2 separate regions of the Homo sapiens genome follow, and region 2 is linked to region 1. The links are contacts of gene promoters, found by promoter capture Hi-C in blood cells and fetal thymus (Javierre and others, 2016). All regions are on one chromosome and are shown on one strand. Each heading gives the region's core, a stretch centred on a gene start or on the middle of the fragment in contact. The rest is flanking DNA. Distances are from core to core; before and after follow the strand shown.

The links. The method cuts DNA at HindIII sites, captures the fragments that hold promoters and counts their contacts. A CHiCAGO score of 5 or more calls a contact.
Region 2: a fragment that was not itself captured here is called in contact with the fragment with the promoter of RNF114 in region 1 in 1 of 17 cell types (naive CD4 T cells); the score reaches 5.3 in naive CD4 T cells.

What each region holds. Positions count from the first base shown.
Region 1 is chr20:49,934,986-49,937,836 of GRCh38, reverse strand. RNF114 (ring finger protein 114) reads right to left here and starts at 1,440. Exons shown (of 6, transcript NM_018683.4): 1 at 1,285-1,440. The coding sequence starts at 1,424. RefSeq lists silencers at 71-365, 651-945, 1,404-1,593, 2,160-2,239 and an enhancer at 1,186-1,791. The HindIII fragment of the contact is 14,536 bases long and covers 1-2,851 here.
Region 2 is chr20:49,318,677-49,321,593 of GRCh38, reverse strand. No RefSeq gene overlaps it. Among named protein-coding and RNA genes, the nearest start is that of SNORD12, 39 kb to the right of the region's middle. RefSeq lists enhancers at 1,977-2,558, 2,559-2,917. The HindIII fragment of the contact is 1,705 bases long and covers 492-2,196 here.

The DNA.
Region 1 (2,851 bases), core at 191-2,690:
GAGCTGTTAAGTTTTGCTCTGTGCAAGCAAGGAGAAGGAAGTTAAGTCCCAGAAAGGAAGTGGGGGAAGTAATTTAGATGGGGATGGTATTTGGTGAGGTAACTTAACCTGGGACTTGAAGCCTGAAAAGGGAGGGGTGGGGGGAAGAGTTCCAGGCTAACCGAATTGCAAAGATGAATAGCCTAAAGCAACATGATGAAGCAAAAAGCAGCCAGCTAGGTGCCAAGCACTGTTCTCTGGACTACTGAAATGGTCACCTGCAGTACATCTGGGAAGAGCTAGGCCACGGTGACCCTTCCCTAAGAGAGCCTCGGACCCTCAGTGTATTCACCTGTAAAATGGCTGCCAACCCTCCCCCGCTGCAGGGTGGCTATAGAATAATGCCCATGGAGTGCAATGGCTACTGTGCCCGCTGCCAAGACCAATGCCAAGGTGATCCCACGATAAGCACTGAGAGGGGCCAGAGGAAAAGCCAATTCTGAGGCAAGAAGCAGGTGGCCACGTTGTCTACAATTCTTTCAACTCAGATGTGTTTGTGCGTCTGATGGAACAAGGCTTAGATTCAAATCGACCAACCTGACCAACCTCGAAAGCCCCGGCCACAGCCCAGGACCTGGACTGGACATTTATACACATATCTGCTTTAATCATTATAACCACTCTATTCACAATATTCAGGTCATGAAGGCTTAATTGAAAACTGAAAGAAACAAACCTCCTACACAGGAAGTAGAATGCTAACAATCCCATCTGCCAACTCCCACCCCCCTTTCACAGCTAAGGGCAAACTGGCCAGATCCCCATAAAGACTTCCCTTTTGTTGTTTTAGTCTAGTTCAGCGTTTCTCCCGACTTTAGTGCACAGTAGAATAACTCGCCACAGCTAGACACGACGCCAAATGTCCTATGCTTTAAGAGCGACGTGGACTAGAAAGGAAACGTCGGCTCTCCAAGGGCGGACTTCGGAGCCTAAAGTCCCCGCAGGGCACGAGTCCACTATCACGTGTGGGAAGGAGACTGACAGGCCGCCTGGAACATCGCAGGCGCTCAACAGACAGCAGCTGCCCCGCTAAGACGGGCGGAGGAACGGGATACTTAGGAGTGAGCGGGGCGGGACAGAAGAGCGCCCCGGCAGCTTTCACGGCCCTTAGGAGCCCCGGGGGACACCCCCGGGAGGCCCCTCTGGGTGGGTCCTCTGGCTCCCGCCCTGAGACCCATCTCGCTCCTCGGCTCCATTCCCTTCCCAGTTAAGCGCCCCCCGACCAGGCCCGGGCTCGCCGCTTACACGTGTCCGCAGGGCACCTGTACCGGCTTCTCGTACACCTCTAAGCACACGGGACACGTGAAGCGTCCTAGGGGGTCAGCCTCCGCCGCCGGCCCCGCCAGCTGCGCAGCACCCCCGCAGTCCCGCTGTTGCGCCGCCATCTTGCTGCCGCTCTGCGCCGCGCAACGGCGGCCGATGAGGAGGAGGCCGAGGGGGCGGGGCTCGCGGGGCGGTGAGCGGTTGGGGGCGGGGCTAGCGGGTGGGCCGCCCCTCGGGGCCCCTCTGACGCAAGCGAGCTAGAGGCCGAGGGAAATCTGGAAAACGTGGAAGCCAAATCCAAAGGCTGCCAGAATTGGGACGGGCTCTGCGCGTGGGCCGCTGTTTTCCAAATTTATCGTTAGTTCGGCACCACTTGCACTATCACTATTTATCTTCGAATCAAGTTGCTTTTTCCTTAAATTTATTTATTTATTTATTTAATCTATTTTGGGACAAGGTCTTGCTTTGTCGCCCAGGCTGGTGTTCAGTGGCGCGCGCGATCATGGCTCCCTGCAGCCTCGACCACCGGGGTTCAAGCGATCCTCCCACCTCAGCCTCCTGCGTAGCTGGACCACAGGCAGTCACCACCATGCCGGACTAATTTATTTATTTTTGTATTTTTTGTAGAGACGGGGAAAGGAGGGGGGGAAGGAGTGGTGCAGAGAGCGGGCGGGTCTCACTGTGTTGCCGAGGCTGGCCTCGAACTCTTGGACGCAAGCAATCCGCCTGCCTCGGCAACCCGAAGTGCTGGGATTACAGCGGTGAGCCACAGTACCCAGCCATTTCTTAAATTTAAGCAAATTCTAATAACAGATCTAATTCCTGAGCTGCAAGAAGAAAATCAATATCATTTATTTATACAAAGGAGCTGGGCAAGGTGGCTTACTTCTGTAATCTCAGCACTTTGGGAGGCCGAGGTGGGCGGATCGCTTGAGCCTAGGAGTACTAGAGCAGCCTGGCCAACATGGTGAAACCCCGTCTCTACTAACAATACTAAAATTAGCCAGGCGTGGTTGCCCATGCCTGTAGCCTCAGCTACTCAGGACGCTGAGGCAGGAAAAGCCTTTGACCTGGGAGGCGAAGGTTGCCGTGGGCCAAGATGGCTCACTCACTCCAACAGTCACTAAACTCCAGCCTGGGCAACAAGAACGAAACTCCGTCTGAAAAAAAAAAAAAAAAACAAAAACACAACCTGGCTAACACGGTGAAACCCTGTCTCTACTAAAAATACAAAAAATTAGCCGGGCGTGGTGGCGGGCGCCTGTAGTCCCAGCTACTCGGGAGGCTGAGGCAGGAGAATGGCTTGAACCTGGGAGGCGGAGCTTGCAGTGAGCCAAGATCTTGCCACTGCACTCCAGTCTGGGCGACAGCGCGAGACTCCCTCTCAAAAAACAACAACAACAACAACAAAACAAAACAAAAAAACCCCAACAACAAAGTACATTCATTTCATATTGTGCAATCATCACCATCAGCTATCTCTAAAATTCTGGTCTTCTTGCTAAACTGAAACTGAAATTCTGTCCCCATTAAACAATAACTTCCTCTT
Region 2 (2,917 bases), core at 95-2,594, 620 kb after region 1:
ATCTGGAGTCAGACTGCTGGAGTGCAAATCCCAGATCTGCTGTTTAAGAGCTGTGCAACCCAGAACACGTCACTTAACCTCTCTGTGCCTTAGTTCCTCATCTGTAAAACAGACATGATAACACTGTTCCATAGCGTTATTATGAGGCTTAAATGAGACAATTTACTTCAAGCACTTAAAATAGTACCTTCCTGACATTTGGTATTTCATAAATATTAGATTTGTTGTTTGCGGATTTTGTTTGTTTTTTAAGTCATCTTCAACATCTCCCTCTATTACAATTGATCACTTAAGGCAGTTGACTTTATCTCCTAAAAATAGCCCATGAAAAAAGCAAATACTTCTCTACATCTTTTGCCTCCTAACTAGTCCCCTCCTGCCTGCTCCCCTGGGAGGTGGAAAGTGAACTTTTCCCTGCGTCTCTTCACAAGACCCTGCTCCAGATAAGGAGGCAGATCCCAAAAGAGCAAAACAAAGGTGAAAGCAAAGCTTTGAGGCTCCTGGTTCCTCCAGCCCCCACTCCGTATAGAAAGGACATCTCTTGGGAGGGGCTAACATTGTGTGATTCTGTGGGTGTCGGTCAGACCATGAGAAAGTATCACTGATGCCTTTGCCTGGACCCATCCTGGGCCCCCACTCCTGCGCTGTGGCAGGGGAGCCCCTGTTGGTGGTGCTAACCTGGGACTTCAGCTCCAATCAGTACAGACCCGCGGCTGCATGAACTCTCTACACAGAAAACCAACCAGTACAAAAGCACCCCCAGGCAGTCCTTCCCCAAATTTAATCTGGAAGGAGTTCTCTTTTGCCTATGGCTTGAGAAGACACCACATCCAAAATTACTTTCTCATCTCACTGCTGCCTGAATTTCCAACGTTGGCCACTCCTGGCAGCAAGGAGCTAGAAGACTCAGAATCAGACCCAGCTCCTCCACTGGCTGGGAATTCTTGACTGCCCAAAGCCCTCTCCTCTCTGAGCCTTGCTTTTCTTGACTGCTAAACAGGGATGTTATTCCATACCTGAACCCCAGAGGGCAGGGAGAATGTATTCAGGTTCCAGGGGACATCCAGCCCAGCTTCTGGGCACAGAGGGATAGGTGATTAATGGATGTTAGGTCCCTTACATTTTTATTTATTTATTTATTTATTTATTTATTTTTGAGACATGATCTCGCTCTGTCACCCAGGCTGGAGTGCAGTGGCATAATCATAGCTCACTGCAGGCTCAACCTCCTGGGCTCAAGTGATTCTCCCACCTCAGTCTCCTGAGTAGCTGGTGCTACAGGCAGTCATCACCATTTGAGGCTAATTTTTTTTTAATTTTTTGTAGAGACTGGGTCTTCCAATATTGCCCAGGCTGGTCTCGAACTCCTGGCCTCAAATGATCCTCCCACAGCCTCCCCAAGTGTTGGGATTACAAGCATGAGCCACTGTGCCCGACCCATTATGCATTTTTTTAAAAGCGCCCTCTCTGTCTTTTAAAACAAATTTCTGAAGGAAGCTCTAGTGATATCACACGGTAGAGGGGCCCAATCAATCACTTTCCTCCCTGACATAGGAAAGTTGGGTCATAACCGTTTTACAGGGTGACAGAATTTAGATTTTTTTTTTGTCTCCAGTGGGTGTGAAAACTTTACTTCTGGGATTTAAAAAGGATAGAGAGCCAGACATGGTGGTGCGTGCCTGTCATCCAGCTACTTGGGAGGCTGAGGCAGAAGAATCGCTTGAGCCCAGGAGTTCGAGGCTGCAGTGAATGATGATCGCACCACGGCACTCCAGCCTGGGCGACAGAGCAAGGCTCCATCTCTAGAAGAAGGGAGTGGGGTGGCGGGGGGGGAGGGGATAGGCAGCGTCCTTCCCACTAATGACTCAACTAAAATAGCCCTTAATAGAGCGCTGTGGGTACCACTCTGGAGGAGCCTTTACCAGGAATGCTTGGACTAGCCCGGTGGCCACGCCCAGCACGCGGACCACAGATGGACTTCACCTGCGTATCTGTCAGGCCCCTCGGCTTCTGGACCCGCCTGCCTGAGTTCTAACCAGCTTGGACACACTAGTTTTGGAATCACTCAGACCGTTCCGCCTCCGCTTTGAGCGTCTTTCCATCCTTGCTCTCCAAGCGTTAGCCCTTTTCTTGGTTTCTCCATGCTCCTTGTCACCTTCTCCATTCGCCTTGTGACCCCTCCGCCCGAAAGAAGCTTGCAACCCCTCCTCCCTCGCAGCTCTCTTGGCCCCGCGCCCGTCCCCAGCTGGGGCTCTCAGATAAAATACAGGACTCCGAGTTAGATTTCAATTTCAGAAAAACAACAAATAATTTTTTAGTATAAGTATATCCCATGCGATATTTAGGACATATTTTTCTCTAGAAAGATTTGTTTATCTGAAATTCGAGTTTAACTGGGTGTGCTGTATTTTGATTTGCGAAATCTGGCGCCCTACCTCAACCCAAGCGCCTCCCTCCCCTCGAGGCCCTCCAAGCTTCACGACCCCCCCGACACCGCTTACTGGGTGCGCTCCTTCCTCTCTCGCACCAGGCGCTCTCCTTCCTGCCTGCGCCTCTTGTGCTCATTTCCCTTCCACCGCCTGCGTCCCGCACCTGGGCCGAATCCTCCACCTTCCTGCCGCCCTTCAAGTCCTGTGAGCAGTCCTTGCGCCCCTCCTCCGAAACACCCCTCAACTCTCCACGAGTCCCTCTCCTTCAGGTCCCCCGAGATGAACGCACCCAGGTTCATAACCTGCGCGTCTTTCTCGGCTCGCAGCTCCACAGCCAGTGCTTCCCCTTTAGGTCCTGAGTGTCTGCGTCCCTCCTTGCCCGCGCGACCCCCTGCACGTCCCGTCTGCCCCGCGGCGCACCCTTCCAGTCCCCAAGCGCCGCGCCCCGCCCTCGGCTCGTGTGACCCCTCCAAGCCCAGAGCCCCCTA